6 separate regions of the Homo sapiens genome follow, and all the other regions are linked to region 1. The links are contacts of gene promoters, found by promoter capture Hi-C in blood cells and fetal thymus (Javierre and others, 2016). All regions are on one chromosome and are shown on one strand. The core of a region is centred on a gene start or on the middle of the fragment in contact, and the rest is flanking DNA. Distances in the headings are between cores, read along the strand shown. Region 1 holds the start of ZHX3 (zinc fingers and homeoboxes 3). Region 2 has its middle 52 kb from the start of TOP1. Region 3 has its middle 69 kb from the start of TOP1. Region 4 has its middle 80 kb from the start of CHD6. Region 5 has its middle 9.5 kb from the start of CHD6. Region 6 has its middle 94 kb from the start of TOP1.

What was found. The method cuts DNA at HindIII sites, captures the fragments that hold promoters and counts their contacts. A CHiCAGO score of 5 or more calls a contact.
Region 2: a fragment that was not itself captured here is called in contact with the fragment with the promoter of ZHX3 in region 1 in 11 of 17 cell types (non-activated CD4 T cells, total CD8 T cells, naive CD8 T cells and 8 more); the score reaches 16.3 in non-activated CD4 T cells.
Region 3: a contact is called between a fragment that was not itself captured here and the fragment with the promoter of ZHX3 in region 1, in 8 of 17 cell types (activated CD4 T cells, naive CD8 T cells, naive CD4 T cells and 5 more). The highest score is 22.3, in activated CD4 T cells.
Region 4: a fragment that was not itself captured here is called in contact with the fragment with the promoter of ZHX3 in region 1 in 7 of 17 cell types (activated CD4 T cells, non-activated CD4 T cells, total CD8 T cells and 4 more); the score reaches 8.9 in activated CD4 T cells.
Region 5: a contact is called between a fragment that was not itself captured here and the fragment with the promoter of ZHX3 in region 1, in 1 of 17 cell types (naive CD4 T cells). The highest score is 5.8, in naive CD4 T cells.
Region 6: a fragment that was not itself captured here is called in contact with the fragment with the promoter of ZHX3 in region 1 in 4 of 17 cell types (fetal thymus, total CD4 T cells, activated CD4 T cells and 1 more); the score reaches 6.6 in fetal thymus.

The regions. Positions count from the first base shown.
Region 1 is chr20:41,314,756-41,319,062 of GRCh38, forward strand. ZHX3 (zinc fingers and homeoboxes 3) reads right to left here and starts at 2,976. Exons shown (of 4, transcript NM_001384317.1): 1 at 2,754-2,976. RefSeq lists silencers at 2,496-2,785, 2,796-3,245 and an enhancer at 3,356-3,405. The HindIII fragment of the contact is 7,702 bases long and covers 721-4,307 here.
Region 2 is chr20:40,974,552-40,978,693 of GRCh38, forward strand. No RefSeq gene overlaps it. Among named protein-coding and RNA genes, the nearest start is that of TOP1, 52 kb to the right of the region's middle. The HindIII fragment of the contact is 2,601 bases long and covers 675-3,275 here.
Region 3 is chr20:40,957,274-40,961,476 of GRCh38, forward strand. No RefSeq gene overlaps it. Among named protein-coding and RNA genes, the nearest start is that of TOP1, 69 kb to the right of the region's middle. RefSeq lists an enhancer at 3,663-4,203. The HindIII fragment of the contact is 7,671 bases long and covers 1-4,203 here.
Region 4 is chr20:41,696,020-41,699,924 of GRCh38, forward strand. No RefSeq gene overlaps it. Among named protein-coding and RNA genes, the nearest start is that of CHD6, 80 kb to the left of the region's middle. RefSeq lists a silencer at 3,191-3,485. The HindIII fragment of the contact is 500 bases long and covers 1,536-2,035 here.
Region 5 is chr20:41,625,947-41,629,805 of GRCh38, forward strand. No RefSeq gene overlaps it. Among named protein-coding and RNA genes, the nearest start is that of CHD6, 9.5 kb to the left of the region's middle. The HindIII fragment of the contact is 674 bases long and covers 984-1,657 here.
Region 6 is chr20:40,933,351-40,937,143 of GRCh38, forward strand. No RefSeq gene overlaps it. Among named protein-coding and RNA genes, the nearest start is that of TOP1, 94 kb to the right of the region's middle. The HindIII fragment of the contact is 2,473 bases long and covers 260-2,732 here.

The DNA of each region.
Region 1 (4,307 bases), core at 1,726-4,225:
GATTGTCATTTTAACTCATGACACAGCTACCTAGAAGCCTAGAAGGCTACCAGCAAGGTCATATGAATAGATGGATAATGAGCATTCATTCTTTCCTTCATTCATTCAACAAATATTAAGTACCCACAATGGGCCAGGTGCAGTTTCTGAGCCCTGAGGATATATCGGTGAAAAAAAAGTCTCACACTTCAGGGTTAATGAGGGAGAGAGACAATACACCAACAAATAAATATGTATTACCAAGTGGTGGTAAGCAAGGCAGGATAAGAACAACAGGGAAATGGGGTGTATTTGATAATGCAGTCAAGCAAAGCCAGACAACCTAACTTTTGAGCAGAGACCTGAAGTAAGGGAGTCAACTATGTTAATATCCAGGGACCAGAGTTCTAGGCGGAGGGAACAGCAAATGCAAAGGCACTGAGGCTGGAGTATGCTTGACTTTTTTGAGACAGAGTCTCGCTCTGTCTCCCAGGCTGGAGTGCGGTGGTGTGATCTTGGCTCAATGCAACCTCCGCATCCCGGGTTCAAGCAATTCTCCTGCCTCAGCCTCCTGAGTAGCTGGGATTACAGGCACGCACCACCAGGCCTGGCTTTTTTTTTTTTTTTTTTTTTTTTTTTTAGTAGAGACGGGGTGTCACCATGCTGGCCGGGCTGGTCTCGAACTCCTGACCTCGTGATCCGCCCGCCTCGGCCTCCCAAAGTGCTGTGATTACAAGTGTAAGCTTGATGTTTTTAAGAAACAGCAAAGAGATCTGTCTGGCAAGGCTCGAAGTGAGGATGGTTGTTCGGAAGAGGGTTAGCCTGGCAGGCCACAGCAAGGCCTTCAGAGTTTACTTTAAGACAAAAAGCTATTGGAGGGCTCTAAGCAGAGGACTAACATGATCTGAATTTTTTAAAGGATTGCAAAGAGAAACACAAGTTCCTACTCATAAAACAAAGATGTATCTCTCATAATCTAGTTATAAGTCAAAGAAAAAAAGCATAGAATAAAAGTTGTGTAGTATGATAGCATTTTTGTAAGAAAAAACACGTATACATGGGAACAAGGCTAAAAGGCTTAATACCAAATTGTGATTTACTATGGTTTGTGGGATTATGGGGTTTTTTTTGTTTTGTTTTGTTTGCAATGCTTTTCTTTGTTTTTCAAGTTTTCTGCCTTAAACATGAATTACTTTGGTAATTTTTAATGTTATCTTTAAAAAGAAAAAAGCACTCCACCATGAGACTTCCCTTGTCTGAAATCTTACTTCAATATGAAAAAAAAAAAAACAAACTCAAAACCAAAAACCAAAACAACATGGGGAACATTTTTTTCCAAAAATTACCACACTTCCCATGCAATGTTTGCCTGTCATGAACCACTGCACAAATCAAGCCCCGCTCAATGTATCAAGGTCACAAAACCAACTTGGTTAATATGTTGATCATTACATAGTGGCTCTGTCCTCTACAGCAACTTTGATACCATCTTTCCAAGGCAGCAACAGAAGGGCCCTTTTCATTCATTTTCTATGTGTCTTTGATACTATTTTGCGCTTCTGGATTTTTCCACTGTATGTCTCTTAGAAACAAATTAAGCTCGAATAAGTTGTTCCAGCTAATGAAGTGCGCTTTTGGCTCCTTCTCCGTGGTTCAGAATTATCCGGCAAAATACCAATTGTTTTAGGATGCATTTTCTCTTAGTTTTGAAATATTGCAATACTAAGTTACCACAAATAAAGAGCATTGAGATAACAACACACAAGAACGTGTATAAATGGAAACTACTGTAATCCTTTTTTAAATTAAGGACGTGTGGACGCCTCATGAATAAACATTTAGGATATCTGGATAAATATATACTATGTGTTCACATAGATAAAAACAGAAAGGAGCATTCCTTCCTACCTCACTCCCCCACCCCAAGTCACATAAGTTTCTCGCAGGGCACAAGCCCAGGGCAATCACTGCTCAGAAATGTAAACCATGCAACTCAAAATGACTCAAGCCCTCAAACACTCCCCACCTAAGTCCTACATCCCATCCACTCCTCAATCACTTCCAACAGGCTTCCCTGAATGAAAATCCCAAACTGGGAAGGCTTAACAAGCTCCAAACTCCACTCACACGCCACTCAGGGAATCCGAGGACCTGGGGCCCACGTGTAGTGTTTTCGCGTGGGCAGACAAGGGTCCCAAGATTCAGGGTGCTACTGTACCCCGAGTGGTTCGAGTCCTGGCTCTGCCGCCTTCACTGGTCGAGCTGACGCTCTTTACACCGGGGGCATGGGCTGCCACATCCCAGCAGAGTGCAAGGGCCCTCGGGCGTGGACGCAGGCGGCTCTCGGGTGCACACGCGGAACGCACACTCGGGCATGCACTCTCACACGGTCAGGCGGGCCTGCGCGAACGCCCCCGCTTCCCCTCTACCACCCCCTTTTGCGCCTTCTACGATGGTGGCACGCGGGGCTACCCTGACCCCTAGGACCCCTGGACGCCCGCTCCTGGAGCCCGGGGGGTGATGACAGATGGCGGAGGGCGGGGCTCCGGGGGGAAGGGGCGGAGCCTCTCAGCATGGGGGTGCTGGCGGCTGACAGAAAGACCAGGGGCAGCCGGCGGGAGGGGGCTGACTGAGACTGCGGGCCGGCCGCGGGCCAGGCGTGGCGGGAAGGAGCTCGCGCAGACACAGGGTCTGACAGGCAGAGAGAGATACAGACACCGGGGACTGACAGCCGCGGGGGCACGCGGGGCCGGCTGGCCGTGGCGGGCGCTCACCTGGCAGCGGCGGCGGTGGCGGCGCCCGCGACCGGGCCGCTCTTCCCGCGCTGCGGGCCTCCCTCCCCGCGGCCGGGCGGGCGGCCGGCGCAGGCCCCGCAGAGGCGGCGGCGGCGGCGACGCCGGAGCCGCGGACTGCTGAGCGGCGGGGACGCAGCTGCACCAACCGACTCCGGGCCGCTCGGCTGGGCTCGGCCGCTCTCGGAGGCGCTCGGCTCTGCTCGGCCTTGCACGGCTCCCCTCGGCCTTGCTCGACTCGGCTGGGGGCGTGGCCCAGGCCCCCCAGTCCGCCCAGGTCGCCTCTGGCGGCCGCGGGGCGGGGCTTTCGAGCGGGTGCGAGCCCCCTGACGTCGCGGGGAGCGGACCTTGCCCCCGGCGCATGCGCCAGCACTCCTCCTCCCCCCTCCTCCCCGCCCCACCGTGTGGAGGCTGAAGAAGACGGGGAAGGAGGCGCTGGGGGCGGATGCTGCGGTCCCAGAGGTTCCTGGCTTTTGTACTCCATATCCTGCTCTTTCCAGAGGACCACTTAAAGAAGGTCACACCAGGTTACACTTTCAAAAGGATGTGTGTGTAGGCTGGCAGGGGCTCTCGCTCCTGTCTGCCCCCACTCCTCCAATTCCAGTGTTTCCCAACAAGCGTCGACTAGGAGTGGTCTTTTATCCAACCAAGGGTTCACTGCAATTTTTAATATTTTCTGTTTTCTTAAGAATAATAACAAAAAAACTAACTCTTGATCACTGTTTTAACATTGAGTCTTCAAGTACTTGAACTTTCAAACATCAGTCAGCCTCCTCGAGTCCACTAATACCGTCCTTTCTTCATAGCTGTTGTATAACCTGTAATGCCTGGGATGGGGTTGGGTTCTTTCCTGAATTCTCGTCACATGATCCAGGCACCTTTTTAGTTATGGAACCAAGTCTGCAGCAAATATGCTCAGAAAGTGGCTCCCACCTTTAGAATCCAGTGATTAGTAAACAGCAGGAGCTCTACGGTCTTGACACACCTGGATGGGAATCCCAGATCTGCATTAATCTAGCAGGTTAATAATTGTCTGAGTGACTTTGGACGTGTTAATCTCTCAACTGTAAAAGGGCAATGAAACATGAGTAAATCAGTAGAAATATTAAAAGGGTTAAATGACACCACATATAAAGATTTCTGCACAGTGCTTGGTGTTCAATAAGTAAGGCTGCCTTTAACTTCAAGTAACTTTAGAACCTTCAGATCCTGAAAACCAGGGAGCATATACACAAGTGTGAGCGATGTGTCCAAGTAAACAAGTCGATAGTCAAACACCCATACGTGGCACCTTAGCTTGCTCCTTTCACAACCTTCCCTACCTCAGTTCATGTCAACTCCATTCTTCTGATGACTCCAGACAAACCATTGGAGTCATCCTGGACTCCACTCTCCCTATCATATCCCACATGCAACCCATTAGAAAAGCCTGTCAGCTCTACCTTTAAAATACCCCTTTTCCTCTTTCCTGGAATATTGTAGTAGCCTCCTGCCTGTTCTCCACGATTCCACTGTGCTCTCATGGTGCCTTCTCTC
Region 2 (4,142 bases), core at 725-3,224, 340 kb before region 1:
AGGCAGGTAATGTGATTCTTCCAGTTTTGTTCTTTTCGCTCAGGATCGCTTTGGCTATTCTGGGTCTTTTGTGGTTCCATATAAATTTTAGGATTGTTTATTCTATTTCTGTGAAGAATGTCATTGGTGTTTTGATAGGGATTGCATTGAATCTGTAGATTCCTTTGGGTAGTAAGGACATTTTAACAATATTGATTCTTCTAATCCATGAATATGAAATATCTTTCCATTTCCTTGTGTCCTCTTCAGTTTCTTTCACCACTGTTTTATCATTTTAATTGTAGAGATCTTTCACCTCTTTGGTTAAGTTAATTCCCAGGTATTTTATTTTATTCGTGGCAATTGTAAATGGGATTAATTTCTTGAATTCTTTTTCAGGTTGTTCGCTGTTGGCAAATAGAAATGGTACTGACTTTGGTATGTTGTTTTTGTATCCTGCAGCCTTATTGAATTTGTTTATCAGTTCTAATAATTTTTTGGTGGAGTCATTGGATTTTTTCAAATATAAAGATTATATAATCTGAAAACAAAGATAATCTGAATTCTTTCTTTCCAATTTCGATGCCCTTTATTTCTTTCTCCTGTCTGATTGTTCTAGATAGGATTTCCAGTACTATGTTGAATAACAGTGATGAAAGTGGCCATCCTTGTAGTGCTTCAGATCCTAGAGGAAAAGCTTTCAGTTTTTCCCCATTCAGTATGGTACTAGCTATGGGTCTGTTGTATATGGGTTTTATTATGTTGAGGTATGTCCTTCTATACCCAGGTTTTTTGAGGGTTTTTATCATGAAGGGCTGTTGAATTTTATCAAATGCTTTTTCAGCATCAATTGAAATGATCTTATGATTTTTGTCCTTCATTCTGTGACATGATGTACCACATTGATTTATTTGCATATGTTCAACCATCTTTGCATCACTGGGATAAATCCTACTTAGTCATAAGGAATGATCTTTTTAATGTGTTGTTCAATTTTGGTTGCTAGTATTTTGTTGAGGATTTTTGCATTAAAATTCATCAGGGATATTGGCCTGTAGTTTTTGTTTTTTGTTGTTGTTGTTTGTTTGTTTGTTTTGATGTGTCTTTGTCTGGTTTTGCTATCAGGGTAATTCTGGCCACATAGAATAAGTTTGGAAGTATTCCTCCCTCCTCTATTTTTTGGAAGAGTTTGAGTAGGATTGGTATTAGTTCTTCTTTAAATGTTTTGTAGAATTTAGCAGTGAAGCCATCTGGTCCCAGGATTTTCTGTGCTGGGAGACTTTTTACTACAGCTTCTATTTCATTACTCATTACTTGTCCATTCAGGTTTTGTTTTTTGTTTTTTGTTTTTGTTTTTGTTTTGAGACAGAGTCTCGCTCTGTCACCCAGGCTGGAGTACAGTGGCATGATCTCAGCTCACTGCAAGCTCCCCCTCCCAGGTTCACGCCATTCTCCTTCCTCAGCCTCCTGAGTAGCTGGGACTACAGGTGCCCGCCACCACACCCAGCAAATTTTTTGCATTTTTAGTAGAGATGGGGTTTCACCGTGTTAGCCAGGATGGTCTCAATCTCCTGACCTCATGATCCGCCCACCTTGGCCTCCCAAAATGCTGGGATTACAGGCATGAGCCACCGTGCCTGGCCAGGTTTTGGATCCTCATGATTCAATCTTGGTAGGTTGTATGTATCTAGAAATTTATCCATTTCTTCTAGATTTTCTAACTTATTAGCATATATTTGCTCATACTAGCCATTAATTATCCTTTGAATTTCTGCAGTATCAGTTGTAGTATTTCCTTTCTCATCTCTGATTTTATTTCTTTGTCTTCTCTCTTTTATTCTTCAATTGTCTGTCTAAAGGTTTGTCAATTTTGTTTATCTTTCAAAAAAACTTTGTTTTGTTGATCTTTTGTATTGTTTTTTGTTTGTTTCAATTTCATTTATTTCTGTTCTGATTGTTAATATTTCCTTTCTTCTACTAATTTTGGGTTTGGTTTGCTTTTGCTTTTCCAGTTCTTTAAGATGTATCATTAAATTGTTTATTTGAAATTTTTCTTCTTTTTTGATGTAGGTGCTTGTAACTATAAATTTCCCTCTTGGTACTGCTTTCACTGTATCCCATAGATTTTGGTATGTTATGTTTCCATTATCATTTGTTTCAAGAAATTTTCTGATTTCCTCTTTAATTTCATCATTGACCCACTGGTTATTCACGAGAATATTGTTAATTTCCATGTGTTTGTATAGTTTCCAAAATTCCTCTTGTTATTGATTTCTAGTTTTATTCCATTGTGGTCAAAAAGATACTTGATATATTTTTCAAATTTTTTTAATGTTTTAAGATTTGTTTTGTGATCTAACATATGGTATATCATTGAGAATGATCCATGTGCTGAGGAAAAGAATGCATATTCTGCAGCTACTGGATGAAATGTTCTGTAAATATCTATTAAGTCCATTTGGTCTACTGTACAGATTAAGTTCAATGTTTCTTTGTTGATTTTTCTGTCTGGAAGATCTGTCCAGTGCTAAAAGTGGGATGTGGAAGTCTCCAGCTGTTATTGTATTGGAGTCTATCTCTCTCTTTAGGTCTAATAGTATTTGGTTTATATATCTGAGTGCTCCAATGTTGGGTGCATGTATATTTACAATTGTTATATCCTCTTACTGCATTAACTCATTTATCATTATATAGTGACCTTATTTGTCTCTTCTTATAGTTTTTGTCCTGAAGTCTATTTTGTGTGATATAAGTATAGTGACTCCTGCTCTTTTTTTGGTTTAAGAGGCATGGAATATTATTTTCCATCCCTTTATTTTCAGTCTGTGTGTGAAGTATGTTTCTTGTAGGCAACAGATCATTGGGTCTTATTTTTTTAATTCATTCAGCCACTCTGTGTCTTTTGATTAGAGAATTTAGTCCATTTATATTTAATGTTATTGATAAGTAATGGCTTACTCCTGCTATTTTGTCATTTTTGTTCTGTGGTCTTCTCTTCCTTCTTTCCTTTTTTTTCTGTCTTCATTTTAGTGAAGGTGATTTTCTCTGGTGATATGATTTAATTTCTTGCTTTTTATTTTTTGTGTATGCATTGTATGCTTTTGATTTGAGGTTACCATGAGGCTTGCAAATACTATCTTATCACCCATCATTTTAAGCTGATAGCAATTTCATAGTGCTTGCATAAACTAATAAGCAAAAAGAAAACTAATAAAGACTCTACACTTTAATTTCATCCCCCTGCTTTTAACTTTTTGTTTCGATTTATGTCTTACTGTACTGCCTATGTCTTGAAAAGCTTTTGTAGTCATCATTTTTACTGGTTCATCTCTTAGTCTTTCTACTTAAGAGCAGTATAACACACTACAGTTACAGTGTTATAACATTCTGTTTTTCTGTGTACTTACTATTACCAGTGAGTCTTGTACCTTCAGATGATTTCTTATTGCTCATTACTGTCCTTTACTTTCTGACTGAAGTATTGCCTTTAGCATTTCTTGTAGAACAGGCCTGGTGTTGATGAAATTCCTCAGCTTTTGTTTGTCTGGGAAAATATTTCTCTTTCATGTTTGAAGGATATTTTCATCTGATATAGTATTCTAGGGTAAAAGGCTTATTTTTCTTCAGCACTTTAAATATGTCATGGCATGCTCTCCAGTCCTGTAAGGTTTCTACTGAAAAGTCTGTGGCCAGACATATTGGAACTCCATTGTATGTTATTTGTTTCCTTTCTCTTGCTGCTTTTAGGGTCCTTTATTTATCCTTGACCTTTGGGAGTATGATTATTAAGTGGCTTGAGGTAGTCTTTGGGTTAAATCTGCTTGGTATTCTATAACCTTATCATACTTAGATATTGGTATCTTTTTCTAGGTTTGGGAAGTTATCTGTTATTATCCTTTTGAATAAACTTTCTACACCTATCTCTTATCTACCTCCTCTTTAAGCTCCGTAACTCTTAGAGTTGCCCTTTTGAGGCTATTTTCTAGATCTTGTAGATATGCCTTATTCTTTTTTATTCTTTTTTCTTTTGTCTCCTCTGACTGTGCATTTTCAAATAGCCTGTCTTCAAGCTCACTAATTCTTTCTCTGCTTGATCGATTCAGGTATTAAGAGACTCTGGTACATTCTTCAGCATGTCAATTGTATTTTTCAACTCTAGACTT
Region 3 (4,203 bases), core at 761-3,260, 360 kb before region 1:
CCTTTATCCATGGAGAAGACACGGTGCAGAGAGCAGCAGGCAGGGTCGCCAGGTAAACACGGTTGCTCAGTTACTTTCAAATCTCAGATAAACAATGAACAATTTTTTAGGGTAAGAATGTCCCAAATATTGCATAGATGTCATGTAAAACCTGGCAACCCTGGCCCCAGGGCCATGAGGGACCTGGTAGAGTATTGAGCTGATGTCACTATGAGAAGTTCCAGTGTCCATAACCATAGCCCAGTCTCACTCTGCACGCTGCTCTCCCCCTGCTCAACCCATGGGCGTCCCACTAGGGGCTCTGGGAAGATGTGACTTCTCGGAGCTGGTGGGCAAATCACACAGCCTTGCTGAGCCTTATCTGCAAAACAGAGGCTCCCAGCCTGTCCCAGTTCTTCCCCTTCATGCTGCACAGGGCTGATGGGGATGGACAAGTCTGTCCCTTGCCAGCTACATGGTGGAGGGCCTATGGCAAGGGCTGCCATTGGGGCTGGCAAGACTGGGCCCCCATCCACCCTAGGAAGGTTGAGTTTCCTTTAGTCCTCTTGAAGACATAGTAACTATAACTCAAAACTTTTGTTTGTATCATTTTCCTTGAAACCTTGGCTTTGAGCTAGGAAAGGACAGAGGGTCAGCTGGCACAGCCTTTGTGGAAAAGCGCAGTGTATCTATCAAAGTTAAAAATAAGTGGATGTTGTGGCCTGTAATCCCAGCACTTTGGGAGGCTGAGGCGGGCGGACCACCTGAGGTCAGGAGTTTGAGACCAGCCTGACCAACATGGCGAAAACCCGTCTCTACCAAAAATACAAAAAAATTAGCCAGGCGTCTTGGCGCGCGCCTATAATCCCAGCTACTCGGGAGGCTGAGGCAGGATAATCGCTTGAACCTGGGAGGCAGAGGTTACAGTGAGCCAAGATTGTGCCACTGCGCTCCAGCCTGGGCAACAGAACAGGACTCCATCTCAAAATAATAACAATAATAAATAAGTGCCTGTTGTATTTAAAATAGAAGCACTATATGAGGACTTAGTAAATCAATCAACCAATAACTACCCCTTTGACATAGCAATCCCACTCCCAAGCATCCAAACCAGGGAATAACAAGGATGTTTCTATTAATACCGCCAAGTCACAAACAACCTGAAATCAATCTAAAGGGGATGAGATGGATGGACTGTGATGTAGTCAAAAGAAGACACAGAAGTCATCAGAATGAGAGAAAGATATTGCCTAACCTGCAAAGATTTCCAAGATATATTATTATTATTAATCATTATTATTATTAGAAAAAAGCAAGTTGAGAACGTTCCAGACCAGGATTCCTCAACCTTGGCACTACTGACATTTTGGGCCGGATCATTCTTCGTGTTGGGGGCTGTCCGGGGCAAGGCAGGCTGTTTAGCAACACTCCTTTAGCACTCTACACACCAGATGCCAGGAGCACCTCCCTCCCCAGCCATGATGATCAAAAATGTCTTCAGATGGTGTCAAATGTCTCCTGGGGAGTAAAATTCCCTCCCCATCCCGCTTTCCCACCCCCCACAGTGAGAACTGGTCTAGACAGCATTGTCAGGAATGTTTACATGAACCAAAGTAAACACCTAACTAGAACTTCTATAGGAACTTAGGTAAATGTATGAATGCATAGCAGAAAGTCTGAAGGGAGTCTCCAAACTGGGAGCTGGGGTTGTCTCTGAGGAGGGAATTGGGAATTTGGGTGGGGGGGAAGAGAGGGATCTGGGGAGACCTTTGCTTTTGTTGTATGATCTGCATGTTTGACCATGAGAATGCATGCATCTGTTCAGTACTTTTTTGTTCTTTGTTTGTTTTCTTTGAGAAGGAGTCTCACTCTGTCGCTCAGGCTGGAGTGCAGTGGCGCCATCTCGGTTCACTACAACCTCCACCTCCCGGGTTCAAGGAATTCTCCTGCCTCAGCCTCCCAAGTAGCTGAGACTACAGGTGCCCACCACCACGCCCAGCTAATTTTTGTATTTCTAGTAGAGATGAGGTTTCGCCATGTTGGCCAGGCTGGTCTCAAACTCCCGATCTCAGGTGACCCACCAGCCTCAGCCTCCCAAAGTGCTGGGATTACAGGCCTGTGCCACTGCACCCAGCCATCTGTTCAGTACTTTCATTATAAGAGAGAAAGGAGGAGAGGGAAGGGAAAGGGAGGGAAGGGGAGGGGAAGGGAATCAATGGGAAAGGAGGGTCAAGAAGGAGAAGGAGAGAAGGAAGGAAGGGAGGGAGGAAGAGAGGAAGGAAGGAAGGAAAGAAGGAGGGAAGGAAGGAAGGAAAGAAGGAGGGAAGGAAGGAAGGAGGAGGGAAGGAAGGAAGGAAGGAAAGAAGGAAGGAAGGAAGGAAAGAGGGAAGAAAGGAAGGAAGGAAAGAAAGAAGGGAGGAAGGGAGGGAGGGAGGGAGGGAATGAGTGGCAGAAGCCAAGTCTGCAGTTGGGAAATCATGGGACGTGCTGGCTTTTCCTCTCTGATCCTCAGTGTCCTCAAAGAGAAAGGCACAGCATAAACAGGTCTCTAAAGACCCCTCCTGCCCCGTCCACTGTTGAAGAGAGCCCCAAGGTGACCTGGCCCCCTCCCTCCCGGCTGTCCCTCCCACACAACCCAGTTGTTGCACAAAGAAAAGAAGTGCTTGGGGCTTCTCCTCCCTCTCAGCATCTCTGATTATGCCTCCCTGCAGGAGGAGGGGAGGTTGGGGCCTGGTCAGCAGCCCAGCTCCACACCGAGGACTTGAGGACTCGCTGGAGCTTGATTAAATAATTACACAGAATCTACTGAGTAATCATGCCCGTCTCAAGAAGCAAGGAGCACCTTCAGAGGGAGGTCCCATTAGTGATTTGGGGGCGTGTGAGTGTATTTGTCTACTGCCTATGATAAAATTATCATCAGAAGGCCTCATTTACAAAATGCATCCCTTTCCCCCATCTCCTTCCATCACCTCCCAAACCCAGAGATGTGTATAATGTAATCCCCATTCCACGGCAGAGGACAGGGACTCACGAGCTTTGGGGCTGGCTCAAGGTCCCAGCAGCAGGGGCTGGTGGCAAAGGTGGTCAAATACCAGAAAGTGCACACAGAGTGGGGACAAGGCTCAGGACTGAAACATTTTAGAAGAGGTTTTGTTTGTTTTTTATTGTTTTGTTTTGTTTTCTCGCTAGGATTATTTCTCTCCTTTCAGTTTTTGAAAACAAATCTAAAATCAGCCATGGGAGCCTCCCTAGGTCTTGCTGCCAAGAAAACAGCCGAGCATGGAGGGTGAGGGCTGGGACTCACTGCGGCCGCCCTCATTTCCGATTTACCCAGGCCAAAGGGGACTGCCAGGTGGAGAGGGGGAGCCCAGGCCATCCTGGGGCTCTGTTCTCAGGCCTAGGGGCCAGGATCTTCTGTAAGCCACCCACCCCCCAGCTCCAGGATAAGGACACCCCTTCCAGCCAAGCGCCTGGTTTAATTGGGAACGGAAATAAACGGCTTACAAGAGGCTACACCAGGGCTCTCTGTGGCCCACAGGGCCTGGTCCTGAGATTCCTGCTGCCTGCATGGCTTGGCCAGCTACCCACGCCAGGCCCCGTTGACTCATTTACACTGGAGCAGTCCAAATTCATCAATAATGATTTGTCTCTCTTCAAGAAGAGGCTCGCAATCAAAAGGCCATTAAAATTAAGTACTGGAGGAGCGGGGGCCAGGGAAGGGGGAGGGGGAAGAAAAGGGGGAGGGGTGGGGCCAGGCGGAGCTGAGTGTGAATCTCCACTGGATGTGGACACTTTCTTGTTGCGGGACCTTGGATGGGTCACGTCTCGTCCTGGTTTCCTCTTCTCTGAAACAGAAGGGCAGATATGGCTACAGTATCAGTGACACTGTGTATGGAAACACCCAGCAGGAAGAAGCACGAAGTGACCCTGCTATGAGGCTTCCAGCATTGGGACACATGGGGAAGGTGATGGATACTGAGCAGGGGTAATGCCAGCCTGCTAGGTCAGATCCCAGGGCAGCTACCCCTCACTGCCCAGCTGTCCTAACTCCAGCCCCTGAGTAACTACCCATTGCCACCTCAACTGGGCTCAACACCCCAGGGCAGGGCCACAGCTCGGCCCTGCTCTAATCTCTGGGCAGGAGCAGCAGAAGCATCAGGACACCCAGGACAGCCCTAGACCTTGGAAGAGGCTGGACCAGACAGGGCTCCCCAGCCCTCAGCA
Region 4 (3,905 bases), core at 536-3,035, 380 kb after region 1:
GCTAATTTTTTGTATTTAGTAGAGATGGGGTTTCACCATGTTGGTCAGGCTGGTCTCAAACTCCTGAACTCAGGTGACCCAAAGTGCTGGGATTACAGATGTGAGCCACCACACCTGGCCATTGCTGTTTTCATAACAAATATTCATTAAGAGAATGAGTGGAACAGCTAGCCATGACTAGCCTCCACTTGTCACCTGATGAGAAGGTGACATGTGGTTCTTATCCTTGGCAGAGTGGAAATTAGCATCCAAAAGGACGCAAGAAGAGATGAGTAAAAAATCTACACTTACCCATGAGCCAGATACTGTCTCATCCACTGTCTCATTTAATCTTTGTGACAATCATAGTTCTCAGTTTTTGCTGCTAAGAAAACTGGTGCCCAAAGGCTCTGCCTAAAGATTACCCAACTAGTAATGGAGAACCTCGGTAGGAAATTGGGTCTTTCTGATCTCAAAGGTTGAGCCCCTCAATATTCCTTCTGTTCTTTTTGCCCCATCTGGCACCCGTTACTAGCACAGAAGCCCGGAAAGTTTAAGAAACAACTTCTGTCTCTGGTGTGTCATTTGTACCTCTGAGGACATCAACTTGGAACAGCCATTGTACCAGAGTTCTGTCTTTTCCAGGAATCAGTGACTCATATCAGTCTCTGCTGATATCAGCTGCTGAAGGGCTTAGGAGAACTGGTAGGACTCAGAGGAGCAGAAAATCCAGGAAAGGGCACTCTTGGCCAGTGCTGTTTAATAGAACTCTTTCAGATGAGTAAAATGTTCCATATTTGTGCTTTCCAGTATGGGAATGTCTCAAGTTCCTTTTTAGACAGTATCTCCAGCCCCCTCATTGGTTCCTGACTTCAGGCTGTTTCCAAGACATTCAACTTGAGACTACAGATCCCTGGGCTAGGTCTTCAAGGGCCCTCCAGATCCAAGCTATGCCTCAGTTTTAGCTGAAGTTGTGTCCAAGAACACAGGTCAGGGTACAGGGAGATGGGATACGTATAGCTCCAGACATGGCCAGTGCATTGTTGATATTGCCACCCCAGCAAACTGCCTAGAACTTGGCCCAGAGCAGATGCTAGGTTAACATGGTAGATGAGTGAATTTACTTTCTCTTCCCCAGATTGGGGCTCCCTCACCTACTGCCATTGGCTTCTGGAATCCTTCTCTATCATTGTGAACTGATGACTTGCCACATGGTGAAGATTAACGAAGCCAGTGCTTTGAACCACCACCCTGACATTTTGGGGGTAGGTCAGGGGGGTAGCTACAAAACCAGCTAGTAATAATTCATTGAAAATATGCTGGATCCAGCATTTTTATGTAATGACCTCATTTTTCTTGTGAAACCCTGTGTGCAAAATGAAAGCCCAAATGAGCATCTGCTATATACAGTTAGGAGTAGGGTGGTGCTGGGGAAAGAGGACTGATCTAGGAGTTACCCTGGACCTGGGGCTCATAGGCTGTATGACCTTGAACAAGATGCTCAATGCTTCTGTGCCCCAGTTTTCTCTCAAGTAAAATAAAAACATTGGACTCTAAGCTTCTTTCTACAGTTAATGTGAATGTTTAAAAAATGGCTGGTCACATCTGTGATCAACCTACATTAAGCACCTTTCAAGTGATTACTTGCTTCAATTAGGTCCATTTTCATTGTTTACTTTTACTAACAGTTTTTTTTCTTAACCCTTCCACTTCCAGTGCCTTCCTCATTCTTCACTATTTTTTGATTGTTTCTTCAGATTCTGATAAATCATCTTCATTTCCAGCCATTGAATCACCTGCTCCTTGGCCCTGCCTAGAGGCTCTTTAATCCTCAGCAGTTTCAATTTCCTGACAAAGCACACAGAGGGGGCCCGGTCTCCCTCCTCTTCCCTTGCCCACTACTCACCACTCTCCCATCTAAAACACATCTGAAAAATCAGGGAGGTTTCTATTCTGGCAGTTGTCTCTCTCACCACTAGATGGCACATGCAGGTCATCAGTCTTTTGGGCAAAAACTAATTTTATTGTGTATTTAAACTCCATCTCAATCCACAAAAGCTTTGAGGGGAATTACAAAAGTACAAAATATACAAAAGGATAAGACAAAAAGTTGAGGTAGCTGGAGAAAATAGAAAACAAGTGGAAGAAATAACTCCAGGATGACATTAGCTCAAAAAGATCAACACCAGCAAAGGCTTACACATTTGGCTCCGAGCTTCCAAATGGCCAAAGTAAAGAGGGAAATGTGAGTGGTAATAAAATTCTAGATTTTATGTGAGAAAAACAAATATTTGGGAGAAGCTCAACTTTTCCTGACCCTGAGACCAAAGAGATATTTTTCCCGTGGGTCAGCTGACTGAACAGTGATGCAATACAGCGGTGACTTAATTGGAGCTGTTTCTTATAATGTCCTTTTATGCAGGCCTATGGCATGACGCTCAAGTATAATTGAGGAAAAGCAGTTCTACTGGGCTTAAAACATGAGTTTCCAGGACAGAGTAAATTCACTGTTTGTTGTGGGCCTCCGTAGTTTGAAACAGTGAAATCTGCACACCTCCCTGTTCCAGAGTTTAGGTGGAGTTTGGGGGAGAGGGGGTTCTTCTTGGAGACTGTGGTAAGCAGTTTCTAAGAGGGCCACCAATGATCCTGCCTCCTGGTTTTCAAACCCTATCTGGTCCCCTCCCATGTAGCAGCAGTAATGGTCTGTGTCACCAGCAGAATGCAGGAGAAGCAGGGCCGGGCATAGTGGCTTATGCCTATAATCCCAGCACTTTGGGAGGCCGAGGCAGGAGGATTGCTTGAGCCCAGGAATTAGAGACCAGCCTGGACAACAAAATGAGACCTCGTCTCTACAAAAAATACAAAAACTAGCCAGGCATGGTGGTGTGAGTCTGTAGTCCCAGATACTACGGAGGCTGAGGCGGGATAATTGCTTAAGCCCAGGAGGTTGAGGCTGCAGTGAGCTGTGTTCATGCCATTGCACTCCAGCCTGGGTGACAGAGCAAGACCCTGTCTCGAACAAACAAACAAAAACAAAAACACCCCACCAAAAACAGAATACAGGAGAAATTATGGTATGTCACTTCTCAGATCAGGTTAAAATACATCATAGCTTCTCTCTTGGTCTCTCTGTCTCTGGTTTTGTCTCTCTCTTTCTGTCATGCTAGGGAAAGCCAGGTGCCATGTCATTAGGAGTCTTGAGAGACCCATGTAGTAGAGAACTGAGCCTACTGTCAACAGCCAGTGTCACCTTATTAGTCATGTCAGAGTACCACCTTGGGAGCAGATCCTCCAGCCTCAGTCGAGTCTTCAGAGACTAAATCCCTGGCTAACACCTTAATGGCAAGAAACCTCATGAGAGACCATGAGCCAGGCCATTCAGCTAAGTCACACCTTGGCTCTATGAGATAATAAATGCTTGTTATTTTAAGCTGTTAAGTTTTGGTATAATTTGTTAAGCAACAATAGATGACTAATACAAAGGCCAATAGAAATCCAAGGTTGCATCAAGGATAATTTTACATGGGTAAGTCTACTTGGTTTCAGAGACCAAGAGAATATTTCAGAAGCAACTCAAGTGGGCATTATTTTTAACTTTTAGTTTAATTTAATTTAATTTTTTAAAAGACAAGTCAAATTTCACAGTGGGGCGTTGCATAGCAATCTTAGTGACACTAATGTTAATAAATTTGGATGACGTACTACCCTTGGACCAGCCCATGGGGGCTTCAAGTCTGATAGATATGGGCTCATATTCAGTCTGTGAATGTAGAAAGACAGAGGTAGAGGGATCCATGTAAAATGTCTGCAAAGGAGATTTCTCTGAAGAAGGACTGTGGGGGCAAGGACTTCAACTTCCTTATTCATGGTGACATCATCGGTGCCTAGCACAGAACCTGGCACGTGGTAGGCTTTCTACAAATCTT
Region 5 (3,859 bases), core at 71-2,570, 310 kb after region 1:
CCATCTCAAAAAAAAGAAAAAAAAAGAAAGTCACTTAACTTACAGTTTCATGATTCCAATAATAGGGTTGTTGTGTGGATTAAATGATTCATGCAAAGTGCTTTGCACATGGCAACTGCTCAACAAATTGGTTATTAATATATAATTATCGCAGCCTTTCCTCTGCCTCCCATTTCCCCGTGTTCTGTATAGACTTTCCCCCTTTGTCGACCTGCAGGTTTTGAAACATATTAATTCCATTGATTTAACTGAAGTCAATCTCTGTTCTTGTGTTTGGCTTGGGGAACCTTCTGTCTTTTGGAGTGCCTTCTACTGATATATGGCCTCTACCCCTCATGTATTAATCTCACTGATTTAACTCTTACAGTGCCACAGAGCTCTCACTCTCACCCATGTATAGCACTACCGCTATTTTGATTTTTTAAATCCAAGGTTATATATAAAAATGACTGTGGTCCCTTTCAGTTACTATGATTTATGGAAAATCACACCTCAAATGTTCTTGGGCAGGATTTTTCAAAAACGCTGGTCACGCTACCCTGAAACAGCTTCGTAAATCCTTCATTCTTGCTCAGCAGTGTACTTTCCTGCAATGACCATTAGACAGTTTCAGCCATAAAAACTTGCTTAAGGCCGGGCGCTGTGGCTCATGCCTGTAATCCCAGCACTTTGGGAGGCCAAGGCGGGTGGATCACTTGAGGTCAGGAGTTCGAGACCAGCCTGGCCAACATGGTGAAACCCTGTCTCTACTAAAAATACAAAAATTAGCTGGGCATGGTGGTGTGCGCCTGTAACCCCAGCTGCTTGGGAGGCTGAGGCAGGAGAATCACCTAAACCTGGGAGGCGGAGGTTGCAGTGAGCTGAGATAGCACCATTGCACTCCAACCTGGGCAATAGAGCAACGCTCTGTCTCCAAAAACAAACAAACAAACAAACAAAAAAAAAAAAAAACAAAAAAAACCACAGCAACAAAAAAGTTCTTAAGCTTTTTACTAAGCCTCAAGTTGCTGTAGAATCCTTTTCTTTATGTGTGCAATTCTACCATCAACATTACTGACCAATTTGGTGAGGCTACCGTCTGAAAACTGGTAATAAAAATAAGCAACACAGTTTTACATACTAGAAACAAAAAACTATAGTTTTAAAAAATTAATTAGTTTCCATGTTTTTGCTGAGGTGAAGCATGGTAACTGTCCTTCCAGTTGGCCCCCAGTGATACTCACTTGCTGTGATTCAAACCCTTATACTGCCCTCTCCTGTACTGAATAGACCTGATTTATGTATGTAACCAGTAGGATATTGCAGAAGTGACAGAGTGTAACTTCCAATGCTAGTCATAAATGGCATTGCAGCATCTGTCTTGCTGTTTTGGGTAATTTGCAATGGGAAGAGTCCATTGTCATGACATGAGGACATTCAGTCAGCCTTATGGAAAAAGTCTTTGTGGCAAGAACTCAAGGCCTCTTGTCAGGAACCATGTGAATGGGCCATCTTGGAAGTAGATCCTCCATGCCTAGTCAAGCCTTCAGATGAGACTGCATCCATCCCCAGCCAACATTTTGACTGCAACCTCATGAAAACCTAAGTCACTCTCAAATTTCTGACCTATGAAAACTATGTGAGATAATAAATGTTTATTGTTGTTTTTAAGCCACCAAGCTTTGGAGATAATTTGTAATGCAGCAATAGATAACAGTATTTCCTTGGGTGATACAACTGACAGCCATCATTAAGTTACTGTATATTTAAAATGTGCTTTGTATAAATTTGCCCCACATTTTAAGTGTTTTCTTAACATATGATCTACATCCAGATATTTTAGGTTATTCTATGACTCATTTCAGTCCCATTCAGCAAACATGCTGTATTAGTCTGTTCTCACACTGCTATAAAGAACTACCTGAGACTGGGTAATTTAGCAAGAAAAGAGGTTTAATTGACTCACATTACTGCAGGCTGGACAGGAAGCATGATTGGGGAGGCCTCAGGAAACTTACAATCATGGTGGACGGGCAAAGGAGAAACAAGCACATATTCACGTGGCGGCAGGAGAGAGAGAGAGAAAGAGAGAGAAAGAGAAAGGGGAAGTGCTACACACTTTTAAACAACCAGATCTCATGGGAACTCATTCACTATCATGAGAACAAAAAGGAGGAAATCTGCCCCCATGAGTCAATCACCTCCCACCAGGTCCTTCCCCTAACATTGGGAATTACAATTCAACATGAGATTTGGTTGAGGACACAGAGCCAAACCGTATCACTTGCATTGCCTACTTGTATCAAAGCCTGTTCGTAACAGAAAACTCCAGATCAACCATCAGCAATTTGAACGAAACTGATGGCAGTAAGTTGTTTTTCTCCATCCAATTCCATTTATTGTGAATGATTCTTATGCTTTCATGATTGTAGTTAAATCTCTGGATGCCAGGAAGTCCAGCTCCTACCACTTCTTTTGCTTCTTTTTGGAATATATGCCAGAAGGGAATAAAGTTGAAGAGAATGATGCCCCCATGTTACTAAAACATGCACTGTTACATTGACAGTTCATAATAGCTAATTTTATTGCATAATTAATATGAACTAAGCACTGCTTTTAAAATTTTTAAAAATAATTTCAATTTTTATTTTAGATTCAGTGGGTACATGTGCAGGTTTGTTACATGTGAATATTGTGTGATGCTGAGGTTTGGGGTGTGAATGATCCCGTCACCCAGGTGGTAAGTATAGCACACAATAGGAGTTTTTTCAGTCCTTCCCTCCTTCCTCCCTCCCACCACTAGTAGTCCCCAGTGTCTATTGTTCCCATCTTTATGTCCATTTGTACCCAATGCTTAGCTCCCACTTATAAGTGAGAACATTTGGTATTTGGTTTTCTGTTCCTACATTAGTTAGCTTAGGATAATGACCTCCAATTACATCCATGTTGCTGCAAAGGACATGATTTTATTCTTTGTTATGGCTAGATAGTATTCTATGGTGTATATGTACCACATTTCATTATCCAATCCACCATGGATGGCCATCTAGGTTATTCTATGTCTTTGCTCTTGTGAATAGTGCAGTGACGAATGTATGAGTGCACATGTCTTTTTGGTAGGATGACTTATTTTTTGGGGGGTATACACCCAGTAGTAGAATTGCTGGATTGAATGGTAGTTTTGAGTTATTTGAGAAATCTCTAAACTGCTTTCCACAGTGGCTAGACTAATTTACATTCCCACCAACAGTGTATAGGTATTCCCTTTTCTCTGAAGCCTCGCCAGCATCTATTATTTTCTGACTTTCTAATAATAGCCATTCTAAGTGGTGTAAGATGGTATTTCATTGTGGTTTTGATTTGTGTCTTGATGATTAGTGATGTCGAGGTTTTTTTTTAATATATGTTTGTTGGCCACTCATATTTCTTCTTTTGAGAAATCTTTGTTCATGTTCTTTGCCTACTTTCTTTATTTTTTGGAGGCAGGATTTCATTCTTTTGCCTAGGCTGGAGTGCAGTGGTGCGATCATGGCTCACTGCAGCCTCAACCTCCTGGGCTCAAGCAATCTTACATTAGCCTCCCGAGTAGGTAGGACTACAGGCATATGCCACCACATTGTAGTTTTTTGTAGAGATGGGGTTTCACAATGTTGCCTAGGCTGGTCTCAAACTTCTGGGCTTAAGTGATCTGCCTGCCTTGGTCTCCCAAAGTGCTGGGATTATAGGCCTGAGCCACTGTGCCTGGCCCTTTGCCTACTTTTTAATGGGGTTGTTTGTTTTTGCTTTCTTGATTTGTCTAAGTTCCTTACAGATTCTGGATATTAGACCTGTTTTAGATGCATAGTTTGCAAATATTTTCTCCCATTCTGTAGGTTGTCTG
Region 6 (3,793 bases), core at 246-2,745, 380 kb before region 1:
ATTCATTCCTTTATTTATCCAACCAATTACTTCAATATTGATAATCTAATATATTCCAGGTACAGTGCATACACTCAGTACAGTACACTGAGGCATAAAGAAGTAAACAGGGTAGGCAATGCCCTGCTCTCATGGAGCAGGGAGATAAACAATTAAATAATCAAATAAGAAATATGTTATTCATTATTTAATGTGACTGTGCAAAGGATATGGGGTAGGTTGAATGACTGGCTCCAATTCTCCACCCCTCTATGTATCAAGCTTTTTCAATATAACATTGCAATCCCTCCCATCCATGGACTTTGGCAAATTTGGGCATTGTTTTGGCCCATGAGATGTGAGTAGTCACGACATAAGCAAGAATCTTACATGAGCTTGTACAAGGAGGCTTACCCTCTTACACTTTAGCCATAGCCATGAGAACATACCCTGCCTAGCCTGCTGATCCCAGGAGATGAACAAGAAGTGGATGAGAGCTGAGCCACCAACCCATGAATGAAATAAATACTTACTATTGAATGTCACTGAGATGCTGTGCTATTTTTGCTGTTGTTACACAGCAGTAGCTTAACAATGTGGAGCATGATTAGAGATAATGAGACAGGAAGGTAGGCAATAGAGAAAGACTGAATTTAGATGGAGGATAAGAGATGAGTCAGTTTCGCTGAAAAAGAAATATTGAAACAGAAATATGAGTAACTCATAGATACACAAGAATGCAAAAGTGGGGAGAAGAGCTTCACAGGCAGAGGGAATAGCATGTGCAAAGGCCCTGAGGTAAGAAGGAGCAGGATGCATTCCAAAAATTCAAAAAAGGACAGGGAGCAAGGAGGCCAGGGAGCAAGGGAGAATGTGGTAGCAGATGATGAGATCAGAAAGGAAGTTGAGTAAAGGACCATGCAGACATATAGCATGACATAAAGTTTGCATTTTATCTAAGGGCAGTGGGAAGCTAATGAAGGGTGTTGAGCATACCAGCACCTGATAAAAATTCCTTCCACTGCTGAGTGAACAATGGATTAGGGGTAAGACAAGAGTGGGGAAAGGGATCCAGGGAGGAGGCTGCTGCAGCCACCAAAGTGGCAGGTGTTGGCCCAGGATTGGCAGGGTACTGTAGAGATAGAGAAAAGGGGACAAAGGCAGGGTGTGGTGGCTCACACCTGTAATCCCAACATTTTGGGAGGCCAAGATGGGAGGATTTATTGAGGCCAGGATTTCAAGACCAACCTGGCCAACATAGCAAGACCCTGTCTCTATAAAAGAGAGAGAGAGAAAAGGGAAAAAATCTGAAAGGTACTTTGAAGGTAAAGGTAACAGGACTTTTTCCAAAAATAGGCCTACATACACATGTCAGTTGACTTTTGAAAAACGTGCCAAGTCAATTAGATGGAGAAAGAAGGCAGAAAAGAGAGAAAAATCAATCCATAGTTTGTACCATAATTAAAAATTAATTCAAGCCCAGGCTTGGTGGCCCACACCTGTAATCCCAGCACTTTGGGAGGCCGAGGTAGGCGGATCACCTGAGGTCAGGAGTTCAACGCCAGCCTGACCAATGTGATGAAATCCCATCTCTACTAAAAAAAAAAAAAAAAAAAAAAAATACAAAATTTCGCCAGGCATGATGGCACACGCCTATAATCCCAACTACTGGAGACGCTGAGACACGAGAATCACTTGAACCCTGGAGGTGGAGGTTGCAGTGAGCCAAGATCACGCCACTGCTCTCCAGACTGGGTGACAGAGCAAGATTCCATCCCCCAAATATATAAATAAATAAATAACTCAAAGTTGAGCATAAAGTTGACTTCATTGATATTGTTTAAATTTCTACTTCAGAAAACACTATCAAGAAAATGAGAAGAATTAGAGTGAAAGCAAAAAGACTTCTCTACAGAATGAAAGAAAATATTTGCAAATCATGCATCTCATAAGGTTCTAATGTCCAGAATATATCAATAATTCTTACAACTCAATAATAGAAAGACAAACAACCCAATTTAAAAATAGGCAAAAGATTTGAATAGATATTCTTCAAAGAAGATATACAAATACCCAAGAAGCCCATGAAAGCATGCTCAACATCATTAGTCATTAGGGAAATGTAAATCAAAACCACAACAAGATACCATTTCACACTCATCAGGATAGCTATCATCGAAAAGATGAACAATAACAAGTGTTGGTCAGGATGTGCAGAAATTGGGACCCTCATACATTACTGGTGAAGCTGCTTTGGAAAGCAGTTTGGCAGTTCCTCAAAAAGTTAAACATTGAGTTACCATGTGACCCAGCAATTCTATTCCTTGGTATATACACAAAAGGAAAAAAAAAAGTTCTCACAAAACTTATATGCAAATGTCTGTAGCAGCAATTATTCCTAATAGCCAAAAAAAATTGAAACAACCAAAATGCCAACCAATTGATGAATGGATAAACAAAATGTGATTTATCCATACAATATTCCTGAATTTAATATTCAGCAGTAAAAAATAATGAAGTATTGACACATGCTACCACGTGGGTGAAACTTTAAAACATCATGCTAAGTGAAAGAAGCCAGTCACAAAGGATGACATGTTGTATGACTCCATTTCTATGAAATATCAAGAATGGTTAAATCTATAGAGATACAAAGTAGATTAATGTCTTCCAGGGGTTGGAAGAAGAGGGGAATGGGAAGTGCTTGCTAATGGGAAGGGAGTTTCTTTGTATTTTTTATTATCTCATAGTAAAGCTTTAATAAACATCAGTTTCCATCCTCCCAGTTCTAGCCAAATTACTTTAATAAAATATATCTGTATATACAGTTTTTTCAGCTTTTATTTTGGATTCAAATTTGGTACATGTTCAGGTTTGTTACATGGGTATATTGCATGATGCTGAGGTTTGGGATATGGATGATCCCATCACCCAGAAAGTGAGAGGTAGAGAACCAATAGGTAGTTTTTCAGGCCACATCTCCTCTCTACTCGAGTGGTCCCCAGTGTCTATTGCTTGTGATGGCATTTCATCGGGGGCGATGAGAATGTTCTGGAATTAGAGAGTGATGATTGTACAACTGCATGAATATACCAAAAACCACTAAATGGTATGCTTTAAATGGGTGAACTGTATGGTACATAAATGTATGGTACATAAATTTTATCTCAATGAAGCTGTTAACCAAAAATAAAAGAGCATAGACCTAATGTAAAGCCTAAAACTATAACTCTTCAGAAGAAATATAGGAGAAAATCCTTGTAAGTTTGAGTGAGGCAAAGATTTCTTGTATATGACATCGAATAAGAAAAACAAGTGATAAGTTGGACCTCATTAAAATTAAGAACTATTATTCTTTCAAAGAAGACACTGTTAAGAGAATGAAAAGGAAAGCCATAGGATGGGAAAAAGTGTTTGTAAATGACATATATGATAAAGAATTTATATTCCAAATATACAAAACTATCAAAACTCAATAATAAGCAAAACAGCCCAATATTTTTTAAAATAGGCAAAAATTGTGAATAGACACTTCCCCAAAGAAGATATTGGGATGGCAAATAACCACATGAAAACAAGGTTCGACATCATCACTCCTTAGGGAAATGCAAATTAAAATCACAATGAGATAAAATGAAGTATTCTGTCCCCCACAAAGACTTGTACACATATTTCCACAGCAACATTGGTTGTAATAGCCAAAAGCTGGAAAAAATACAAATGCCATCAACAGGTGAAAGAATCAACAAGAAGCGGTATACCCATACAGTGGGATACTACCCAGCAATTAAAAGGAATGAACTACTGACACATG